Regions from separate parts of the Homo sapiens genome. Here region 2 is linked to region 1. Evidence: promoter capture Hi-C in 16 types of primary human blood cells and fetal thymus (Javierre and others, 2016). All regions are on one chromosome and are shown on one strand. The core of a region is centred on a gene start or on the middle of the fragment in contact, and the rest is flanking DNA. Distances in the headings are between cores, read along the strand shown.

Region 1 (5,780 bases), core at 2,606-5,105:
GATTCCTGACTTCTAGACTTCTGACTTGGGCTACACAATTGATAGAATTACCCTGTTCTGAGGATGGAAAGCCTGAAAAAGGAGTGTGTGTGTGTGTGTGTGTGTGTGTGTGTGTGTGTGTGTTGTGGCCTTGAGGTAGGGAATTGTGTTCAGAATCATTTCCATTCAGACTTGGTATATCTAACACACTAGGCATCCACATCAAGATGCCAAGTAGGCAGTTTGCAGCTCAGGAGAGAGGACAGAACTATAGATAATAAATATGAGTCATCAACATATAAATAGTATTCAAAGCCATGAGACAAGATGAGTTGAGGTTTTTTAGGAAGAAGAAATGAAGAAAGAAGAGGCTCAGGGCTGAGCCCCAAGACCCTCTAATATTTAGAGATAGAACAAAAAAGACTAAGAGACAACAGGGAAGTATGGAAAAAACAGGTAAGAGTGTCTTGGTTTGGAAGATGAGAATGATAATGGTTTCAAGGTAAAGGAAGTCATCAGTTTTTGCTGAAAGACTGAGAAAGATTAACATAGAAAAATGACCATTGGATTTATCAGCATAAGGGTCAGTAGCGACATTGCAAGAAACAGCTTCAGGAGACTGTGGGGAAGAAGCCTGTCTGAAGTGGAGAAGGAGATAACGAAATTTGAGTAAGTAGTCAATGAAAAGTTTTGCTGAGAAGAACAAGAAGAGGGACAGGAAAATGGAGTTCCAGTGGGTCATGAGAAGGTCCATAAAGGATTTCCTGGGGTATACTTAAATGCTGGTGGGGATGATCATACAGAAAGAGGTACATTGATGATGCAAGGTAGGAGATATCTGCAGAAGTAAAGTCCTTGCAAAGGCAAGAGGGTATGGAACATGATCATGAATACAGGAAAAGGAGCTGAATTTGTCAGCAGAATGGATACTTCTTTCATTGTTATAGGAGGAAACATACCAAGATTTCAATTCATATTTATTGAATTCCAAATTACAGGCTATTGATAGGAACTCAAATCAGGAAATAAGGCAGATTAAGGTCTTGCACTCATGGAACTTGTATTCCAGTGAGGGAACAAACAACAAACAGGTACATAAATAAGGAAGAAGGTTTTAGATGGTGATAGGTGGTCTGTAGAAAATAGAACACAGTTTTGTATTGGAGAGTACCCTGGAATATGGATACTTCAGACAAGAGTCAGAGAAGCACAACAGAGGGCTGAGCCTTGAATGTCAAGGAGACAGGCAAAGAATAATTTGTAGGAAGAGCATTTCAAAAGAGAGAATACCTAGTGCAATTGTGCTCAAAGAATAAAGAGAAGGCCAGTGTGGCTGGGGCAGAGAGAGTGAGTGGGGTACAGAGAATTTCAGGGAGAGGCAGAAGGCCTCAGACTGGAGAATAAGGGGTATGGGTTTTATTCTAATGTGACGGGAAGGCCTCAGCAGGTTTTCTGCAGTGGAGAACAAAATCTGATTCTAGATGGAGGTAAGTTTGTAAGTTGGTAGGTTTGTAGCCGATTAGAAAATGGGAGCATTCTTGTTTCATGGTTTTGTTTTCTCAGCATAGGATAAAGTTAGGTGGCCACTGAAGGCTTGAGTAAAATCTAGAAGTGTAGGAAATTTGAAACTGTTTATGCAAATAGACAAAAGGAAAAATAGGAAAACACTAAAAAGGAAATTTGCTTCCATTGACTTTGCTTATAGCAGTGTGCCCTATAGATACTTGTTGCAGAATCTTCTAGAGTGATTGTTAAACCTCAGCTTTCCTGTGCTAACTCCAAACCTATGAACCTCTGGAGGGGGAGGTGGAACCAGGAACCTACATTTTATAAAGGTACTTTAGTATTTTATTAAGCACACTCAAGTGCAGGAACTGGCCAAGAGATGATGTGTGGAGAGCATGCAGTAGCAGTAAAAGTTAGCAGTGGAGAGTGGGCAAAGCATGAGCCATGGGAGACAGGTGGGGAAGACCATGAGCAGCGCATACAAGACAGGCAGCTGGAGAAATCAGGGGGTGTGAGCTTCGGTGAGATCCCATTCCAAAGGGCTAGAAAGGCTGAAGACACCAGATTTTCTTCCACTGGAGGCCTTTTAGATTTTTGAACAATGGAGTGAAATAATGAAAATATATATATTTCTTAATTTTTTGTTTTCATAATTGGAAAGTGACCTATAGGTCACTCTTTAACCTTTCCAATCATAAGAACCAAAATCTCTTAAAAGAGATGAGGTTGTTACACAGGTAATTATAATGCTTAGGATGGGAATACTGGTACAAAAATGAGAAATGGACAAACAACAGAAGCACAGTAGCTTGAATGGCTGATAGGTAGACCTGGTATTTCATGGGGCTCCAGTTAAGTGACCTACATGATGCTGCTGCTGTGGCCCTGAATTGGCAGGACTGGTGAAGAATTTGATTTTCAGTTGATAATATCCTCTTTGAAATTTAGAAATAGGTGAGAAGTCAGGGACGTACTCTGCTCTTAGAAAAAGTGTGAATATACATTTGTTCAAAGGGAGTTAATATGCAGAAAAAGAAAAGAGATGAAGATAATGGTCTGGAGAAAGGTTTAAGGGTCAGGAGACAGTAAAATGTCAGGAAAGCAAAAAGTTGTAATAAACTAATATGTGCTGTATTCCAGACACCTCAATAAGCTGGATGTCCATAGAAACAATTGGACACCCAGCTTGTTAGCTTAAATGCTGGCTCCATAAAATCAAGTCTGTACAGGAGGCTTATTACTGATATTTAGTAGTAACGACTAACATCCAACTTTCTTTGCTTAGTTTCATCTGTGCTCAGGGCAGCTCAGTGAGGTGGAAGGCCAGTTAATCACTAGTTTCATTTTACAGATGAAGAAACTGAAGATCAGGGAGCTAAATGACTTGCCAAAAGTCACCCAGTTATTGAGGTCTGCACACAGTAAACGTCTTATAAACTAGGAATGCACGGTACCGTGGAGATAATTAGAAACTTAGACCCATCCTGTAGCCAAGAGACGCTAATCTTAATTATAATCTTTCTTTAAAATCAAGCCAATCTGGAGGAAAAAAAGATATAATAAACGGTGAATGAGACCTTTGCGGACGTCCACACCATTACAGTAGGTTAATAACAAGAAGAAAACAATAGTTTTAATCCATGTCTCAAAAATAACTACGGATGGTTAATGTTTAGGATCTCTACCAATATCACATTAGAGTTCAGAAAATCTGAGACCCATGCTTGGGAACCAGGTCTTACTCTTATTTAGGGAAGGGAGCCGAGGTTCTGCCGCTTTTGCTGGGCAAGAGCGCGGTTCGGGTGTACAGAAACAGCCTCACGTGGCTAGCTGGTGCCTCATGCAGTGGGTAGGTTTCCCGTGGCGAGCGGTAGCGCTGACCGCCGGCCAGAGAGCGATGAGCACCTGCAGAATCCTGGGGGCGGGGAGCCCGGCAGGAGACCGCGAGCACCCGCACGCCGCCAGCCACACCGGGCCGACCAGACAGCGCCCCTCTGTGGCGCAGCCTCCAATTCTGGAGGTCCCAGCTCCCGGAGGGGCCAGTGGGGACAATCAGGACCAGGCGGTTTATTGCAGTGGTCCCTCAAAGCTAGCGGGAGGCGGACACGCGTCGAGCACTGCCCCCACCGTCTCGCTTTTGGCCCCCTGCTTTGCATCGCGGCACAGAAACTTTCCCTGCCCGGGACGCGTCCCCACCTCCGTGCTCCCCCTCCCAGCTCACCGAGGACCCCCGGTGCGACGAGAGCCAAGAAAACCCCGAGCAGGCCCGCGGCGCCCATGCCACGGCCGAAGCCCCCGCGGCGGGATGCGTTCCGAGACCCGCGAGCGTCCGGCAGCTCTGGGAGGGCAAGGCTGGAGCAGCAAGCAGCTGTGAGCCAGGAGAGGCGGGCCCTTAAATAGTGTCCGGCACACGTGCTAGTTCTGAGCGCACACCTGCAGGCGGCCTGGGGGCTGACGCGGCGCCGGTGAGGGTGGGACAAGCGGGAGGGACGGCCCGGCACGAGGTGGGCGGGGAGCTCTGAGCCACTCTTTGGCTCAGACTCACCCCTCGTTGCGGTGGCTTCCCCACTTTTTTGACCACGCAACCCACTACACTCACTTGTTTCTCTTACTAGAACTTAAACAAAACTTTCACAAGTTAGTACTCACCCTTAGTAATCTACAATGTTCGTCCTCTGTGCCATGCTGTGTTATGCTAGACTAGGCTAGGCTATCCTATTCTTATTAGAAATCCACCAAACTCATTTCAAAACCTATTAGTGGATTCATCTCCCAGTTTGAAAAAGCAGTGTAAGTTTACTTAGGGAATTTAGGAACAGCAGCCACTTCTGCTCTGTTCTTTATTTTGAAGTAATCTCTACAGAAAAGTTTCAAGAGTACTGCAGAGAATTCCCATATACTTGTCACCCAGATTCTCTGCATGTTAACATTTTGCTGTATTTTCTTTACCATTCTCTATTCTTTCTCTATAGACATATATGTACATATATGTGATTATATAATTATAATTATATAATTATTACTTTGGAACCATCTAGCATTTATTCCTATTCTAAATGGTTCACTAAGGACTTTCTGTTCCATAACTAGAGTGCAATGATCAAAAATAAGAACTTAACATTGACACAAGACTATAAGCTACCATCTGTATTTAAATTTTGACAATCATCTCAATAACCTGTGTTATGGTAAAAACAATAACAACAATAGAAACCAACCTTTGTTTTTCCTGGTCCAGAATCATTTCAGGATCATGTATTGTGTTTGATCATTATGCCTTCCCCCCACCCCCAGTTCTTTATTCTGGAAAAATGTCCTCAGCATTTTTGGTATTGCATGACCTTTACATTTTTGACGAATACACCACAATTATTTTTGGAGAATGACTTTTAAGTCCGTTATCTATTATAATAACAAATTACCCTGAAGGTAGTGGTGTAAAGCAAGAATAAACATTTATGATCTCACAGTTTCTGTGGGTCGGTCAGGTGGTTCTGGCTTGGGATCGCTCAGGAGATTGCAGTTAAGACACCAGCTGGAGGTGCAGTCATCTGAAGGGTTAACTGGGATAGGCGAATCCACATCTAAGATGGCTCACTTACCAGCCTTTGGCTGGAAGCTTCATTCTTCACCACGTGGATTTTGCCATAGGGCTCGCTGCTTGTGTGTTGAGTGTCCTCGTGACATGCCAGCTAGCGTCTCTGAGAACAAGAAAGAAGAAGCCATAATGTCCTTTGTGACCTGTCCTCAGAAATCACAATATGTTAACTCCAGAATATCCAATTGATTGTACAGATCAGCCCTTTTCAGTGTAGGAGGGCAGTATACGTGGATGGTAATGTCAGGAGACAGGATCACACCCCACAATTTGGATTTGTCTATCATTTCTTCATGATAGATTCAGGTTATTGAATCTAATTATTTGACAGGAATACCAGAAAGGATGTCTTATCCTTACGGGGAGGCATATGTTGTCTATTTGTCCTATTACTGGTGGTGGTAACTTTGATCACTTAGTTAAGATGGTGCCTGCCATGTTTCTTAGTGTAGACTCAGTATTTTTCCCTTTGTAATTAATAAGTATTTTATAGGGAGATACTTTAAAACTATGTAAATTCCTCATTTTTTCATCAAATTTTTACCCACAAATTTTAGCGTCTATTGATGATCCTTTCTTGAATCAATTTTTACTATGATGGTTGTCAAAGGGTGTTTTTTCCTAATTTAATAATTACTTCTATATTCATCTGTTGGCATTTTACTGTAAATAAAAGTTTTCCCTTCTCTATTTATTT
Region 2 (5,958 bases), core at 1,343-3,842, 740 kb after region 1:
CAAAAGCCTAGGGCTCAACAAAAAGTCAAGAGGCCTAAAAATCGCACTGTAGATGACAAATCTTTAAAATATTTCCAACACATGATGGATAAAAGGCTAACTTAACTCAGGCAAATCAATTGTTGAAGATCAACAACCTAATATAAAAATGGCCAAACGATAAGAACAGGCAGTTCAAAGCAAGAGAAACACAGATGGCTGAATGGAAGACACTCAGTGTAGCTCAAAGAGAAATGTTTATAAAAAAGATGATAATTTCACCAGACTGGCAAAAAAAAAATTTTAATGTTTGACCAAAATAAAACTCCCAGGTTTATGCAAAGATCTGGGGAGAAAAGGCACTCTCTTACACATTCAGTTGGTAGAGAAATAAACTAGTATTTTTGGGGAGGTATTTGGCCATGTCTATCAAAATTGTAAATGTTCAAACCTTGGACCCAGTAATTACCCAGCAAGAAACCATCCTACACATTATATTCATAAAGCATTTTAATGGCAAAAAAACTGGTAATAACCTAAATGCCTACCAATAAGAGGGTGGTCAGATAAATGAAATGACAGCAAATCCATACAATGGAAAACGTGCGGTGTCGTAGAAGAAAGAGGCAGCTCCCCATCCACGGCGACGGGGAGAGCAGGATGCTATTAAATGGGAAAGCAGATAAGGACCAAGATGATATAATACTTTGGCTTTATCTTTAACATCCTATTTTTTTTTTTTTTTTTTTTTTGAGATGGAGTCTTGCTCTGTCGCCCAGGCTGGAGCTGCAGTGGCATGATCTTGGCTCACTGCAAGCTCTGCCTCCCGGGTTCACGTCATTCTCCTGCCTCAGCCTCCCAAGTAGCTGGGACTACAGGCGCCCACCACCATGCCTGGCTAATTTTTTGTATTTTTTAGTAGAGACAGGGTTTCACCATGTTATTCAGGATGGGCTCGATCTCCTGACCTCGTGATCTGCCCGCCTCGGCCTCCCAAAGTGCTGGGATTACAGGCGTAAGCCACAGCGCCCGGGCAACATCCTAATTTTTTAAACAGAACTGCTTCCACCTTACTTAAGTAGCTTTTAAAGTATATTCATAAAGACAAGAAGCAAACACACCTAAAAGTTAATTAGTGGTTAATTATAAGTGGTAGTAATATGGATGACATTTTCTTCTTTTGCATATTTTTTAAATTTTCAAAAACAAAAAAGTACTGAACAGAATATATAGCATAATCCCATTTCTATAGTTTTGTTGTTATTGTTTTGTTTTTTAGGGAAGAGGGGAGAGGATATATGAAATTGTAGATGTTTAAGTTTTTTTCTGGAGGAATTTACCTCCCCTGCAAAAAAAAGGTAGCAGTGTTGACTACTGGGGAATAGGTACTAGAGAGAGGCGTGTATTTTTTTTTCTTTCTGTTTTATATCTCTATGTATTGTTTGAACCTTTACCATCTGAATGAAATTTTTTAAAAAAAATTAAGTAAAAGGGTTTGGGTTCTGAGGTGCAGTATGATTCAGGTCTTATATTTGAACCCCTGGCCTGAGACAGTGACAGAGATGTGCCCCAAATGTAGGCCAACCTTCCTGCTAGAGGCAGGAGAGCACAGATGAGAAATTTCACACTGGCCACAGGAGGAAGAGAGGCCTTGCATAACTCTAGGTCAGAGGCCACACTTGACCAGGCCTGGCATCTTCCCAGAGGATGTAACCCTAAGAATTGATAAGGAGCGAGCAGAGGCCCCAAAGCCCCAAACCACTGCTGCAAGCCACTTCTGACTTATATGGACATGAACACTGCACACAGCAGTGATGTCAACCACACAGGAGTCTTGGGTAGGAAACTGAAAGATGGGGACAGAGATATTTCTTCTGTTTCTTCCAGCAAATGGCACTGAAAGAGAAAGAGGAATTTTCATTTCAACCGCATCAATTATGTACCAGGTGCACTTTATATATAGCAAATATTGCTATATTTAAGCTTCCTAGCAGCCCTACAGAACAGGATCCATTGCTGACTCCATCGTACAGGTGCGGCAACCAAGGCCCAAGGAAGTATTAATAATTTGCCCAAGGCCACATGGCTAGTAGGTAATAAAGCCAGGACTCAGACCCAATTCAGATCTAACCTTTTATTCACAGCAAAGGAGGCTTTGACAAATAAACCCTGAGCTGGTAATATTAGTTTACCGCTGGCCTCTCTCGTCCCCTCCTAAGTGACTCGTCTTTGCTCTGTTCACAGGCCTGCCCTATTCGCATCAGGCCTGGGGCCAGAGCCCAGTAGAGAAGAGTCACAATAAACACTTACCAATTAAATGGGCAGACTGTACACCAGAACAAGATACAAGGCATCTTTCCCTAGGAGACCAGGCAGACAGTGGTAGGAAGGAAACACCCTAAATGTTCCAAGTTGGCTTTAAGCTAAAATCCAAGTGGCAAGAAGAGAAAGATCATGTTCTTAGTAGTATCTAGGTATCTAGTATCTACTTTAAAAAATCCACAGAGATGGACAAACTAGCAAGAGAAAGTAAGACGGAAGGAGGTCAGGAACACTGCGCCTCTGGCCTAAGCAGCCCCCATGCATACGACCCTGTGCGGCTGCCAAAGCAAATCTAAAATTTTACTTTGAAGCGACAAAAGCAATCTCACCTTCATCACCCCAGCTGAGCAGAATGAGACTCACAGCAACGTATACCTGAGTCCACAGATCTCACAGGGGGTGGAGGAGAGTTGACAGAGAATGTGGAGGAAGAGAAGGATCCTACAAATCAAGAGGGCGGCCCACACACACACATCCCCCACCCAGTACACAATTCCACACGCCTAAGACTGGAGACAACTGGGTGAGGAGAGAAGGAAAAAGAACCGGAAGATAGATGATTGTTATGGTGACACACAGCAGACTACATGGCCAGGGAGAAGACAGGAACCACTCTTTCCTACACAGTGAGAGAAATGGCCCAGACACAAGAGTGAGTTCAAGCCACCAACACAAACACAAGGTCACTGTGAGAGAGAAGTCGAGGTCATGCCTTCTGCTACGAGCAGGGCACCTGATAAATAAATTCTCACTCTACATTACCTCTCACACAGCTGAAGATACAAGGAAGGGAACTATTACCCTGAACTTACTTCTGGCCAGGAAGAAAAACCTAGTAAATTATGTTTAAAAAAAAAAAAAATACTTCAGCTAGCAAAAACAATAATAACAAGAACACCACATTGGGAGGAAGTAAGCTTGTCAATTCAGAGTTCAAAGGAGGGAAATTAAAAAAAAAAAAACTGAGACAAAAACAGTTGTTTAGCCTAGACTTCAAAAAAACCAATATTCAGGTCAGGCGCAGTGGATCACACTGAAATCCCAGCACTTTGGGAGGCTGAGGCAGGAGGATGGCTTGATGACTAAGAGGATACAAAAAGGAGAAGGAGGAGTTCAAGACCAGCCTGGGCAACACAGGGAGACCCCGTCTCTATGAATAATTTAAAAAATTAGCAGGGCATGGTGGCACTAGCCTGTGGCCCCAGCTACTCAGGAGGCTGAGGCAGGAAGATCACTGAGCCCAGGAGGTCAAGGCTGCAGTGAGCCAATGATCGTACCACTGCACTTCAGCCTGGGCAACAGAGTGAGACCCTATCTCAAAAAAAAAAAAAAAGAAAGAAAGAAAAAGAAAAAAAAAACCAATATTTAGATGTTGAGACCAAGGAGTATGATGGGCAGAGATCCCAAAAGGGAATGCATTTTGAAAGACAAGGTCCAAGTCTCTAAAAAGTGAATTCTGATCATCTAAAACACAATAATCGCTTAAAGAAGAAACCAGGAGGAGGCAGCCACAAATGTCAGGGAGAAGTGAAGAGCTGAGACAGTAAAGGATGTGTGCAAAGACACGAGCAACTGCCCATGAGCCAGGACAGGCCCGAAGGGAGTAGTCTGCGCTCACTAAACACAACAAGCAGAGCTTGTGAAAATGCTAGGAGCATGTCTTCAAGCTACATCCAAAGCCATAAGAAGAACCAGGGAGGAAGTGGCCCTGGGATGGGGACAGAGACTCTAACACACAAAATGACAGAGAATGGAGAATTTTCATCTCCAGTATTTCCCATCTTTTCTATGAAGGAGAATGCTCCACAGACTAGAACAAGCTAAACATTTACACACATGCTCTCTCTCAAGAGAAGCCTCAATTCTAAGCTAGACCATAAACCAACTTACAATCACCCAGAATTACATCCCAGGATGCAGAAGGAAAGTACAGGTTGATTCCAGAACCACTGCTGGCAGTGGTTCAGGAGCTGAGGGGAGAGGAGGTGGCAAAGATCTGCTTTCTGGCAGCACACATTCTCTCGAAACCTGGTACCCACAATGCTCCAGGCACTAGACCAAGCTCACAGGGCTTCAAGGTTCACAGTCTAGCCAAGAGGGAAAAAGAAGCAATATGTAAACAAAACTGTTAATAAACTATGATGACTAAGAGGATATAAAAAACTGGGGGGTTGGGACTTCTTTTTTTTTTTTTTTTTGTGACCGAGTTTCACTCTGCTACCCAGGCTGGAGTGCAATGGTGTGATCTCAGCTCACTGCAACCTCCACCTCCCAGATTCAAGCAATTCTCCCACCTCAGCCTCCCGAGTGGCTGGGATTATAGGCTCCCACCACCACACCCAACTAATTTTTTTTTTTTTAAGTAGAGACAGGGTTTCACCATGCTGGCCAGGCTTAGTTTCGAACTCCTGACCTCAGGTGATCCGCCTGCCTCAGCCTCTCAAAATGCTGGGATTACCAGCATGAGCCACTGCGTCCAGCCGGCACTTTTGTTTGTTTAAAGGGAAGGGGACAAATAGGATAAACTCCTCAACATCTGCCTCTGGAAAAGCTCTAGAACAAATCATAATCTGAACCATCACAAGCTACCCTGGGTCGCTTAAGAGGCCACAGCAAGCTAGTCTCGTTTCCTTTTTAGCAGAGTTTACTGAATTATAGACCAAAGGAATGCCAGACGCAAGGGGTCTGGACCTCTATGAAGTATATGAACACAGTCTCCTGCCCAGACCTTAGGGATGACAAAGGAGGAGGCAGTGAGATGACAAAGCATTTAGATAATATTTGCAGTTGTTATAAATGGCCAGTAATAAAGTGCTGTTTGGTGGATCTAGGACAGGCTGCTGAACAGGCACCAAACTGAACTCACGGCCCCTTTGAATTTGCTCCCGGATCTCAGTAAACGGCAATGACATCACTATCTAGCCAGGCTCCCAGATATAAATCTTGAGTACTCATCCTCAGACTCTCTCCCTCCGTCACCCACAGAAGCAATCCAATTTTGTCTCTGGGAAGATCTCCCAAATCCATCTTTCCTTTTCCAGTCCTGCTATCGCTTACTGGGTTGCAGCCCCTTTTCTCTTGTGTGCTTTCTCTTTTTGAGACAGGGTCTCATTCTGTCCCCCAGGCTGGAGTGCAGTGGCATGATTTCAGCTCACTGCAAACTCCGCCTCTTGGGTTCAAGCAATTCTCCCACCTCAAGCACCTGACTAGCTGGGACTACAGACATACACCACCACGCCTGGCTAACTTTTTATTTTTTGGTAGAAACGGGGTTTCACATGTTGGCCAGGCTGGTCTCAATCTCCTGACCTCAAGTGATCTGTCCACCTCGGCCTCCGAAAGTACTAGGATTACAGGCATGAGCCACCATGCCTGGCCTACTCTTCTGTGTTTTCTAACTGGTTTCTAGAAGGGAGACGTACTCCATCCCAGTACATCTTGGGTCACATGCTGAAAGGCAAAGCTGAGCAGGACATTTTCCTCCTTAAACATCTCCACTGGCTGACATGATAAAATCCAAATTCCCTAACTTAGTCTTCCCTAGCTCCTATCCACATCATCGCTACCCTAACCTCCCAACACATCCCCTATATTGAAGCTACAATGCACTTCCTGACCTCAGGCAAGCCAGGCCTTGTCATGACTTCACGTCTGTAA

What was found. The method cuts DNA at HindIII sites, captures the fragments that hold promoters and counts their contacts. A CHiCAGO score of 5 or more calls a contact.
Region 2: a fragment that was not itself captured here is called in contact with the fragment with the promoter of CR2 in region 1 in 1 of 17 cell types (fetal thymus); the score reaches 5.6 in fetal thymus.

The regions. Positions count from the first base shown.
Region 1 is chr1:207,452,403-207,458,182 of GRCh38, reverse strand. CR2 (complement C3d receptor 2) reads right to left here and starts at 3,855. Exons shown (of 20, transcript NM_001006658.3): 1 at 3,707-3,855. The coding sequence starts at 3,764. RefSeq lists silencers at 3,297-3,406, 3,787-4,016. The HindIII fragment of the contact is 5,194 bases long and covers 1-5,106 here.
Region 2 is chr1:206,713,306-206,719,263 of GRCh38, reverse strand. All of the region lies in intron 1 of MAPKAPK2 (MAPK activated protein kinase 2), which reads right to left. Among named protein-coding and RNA genes, the nearest start is that of MAPKAPK2, 31 kb to the right of the region's middle. The HindIII fragment of the contact is 1,256 bases long and covers 1,965-3,220 here.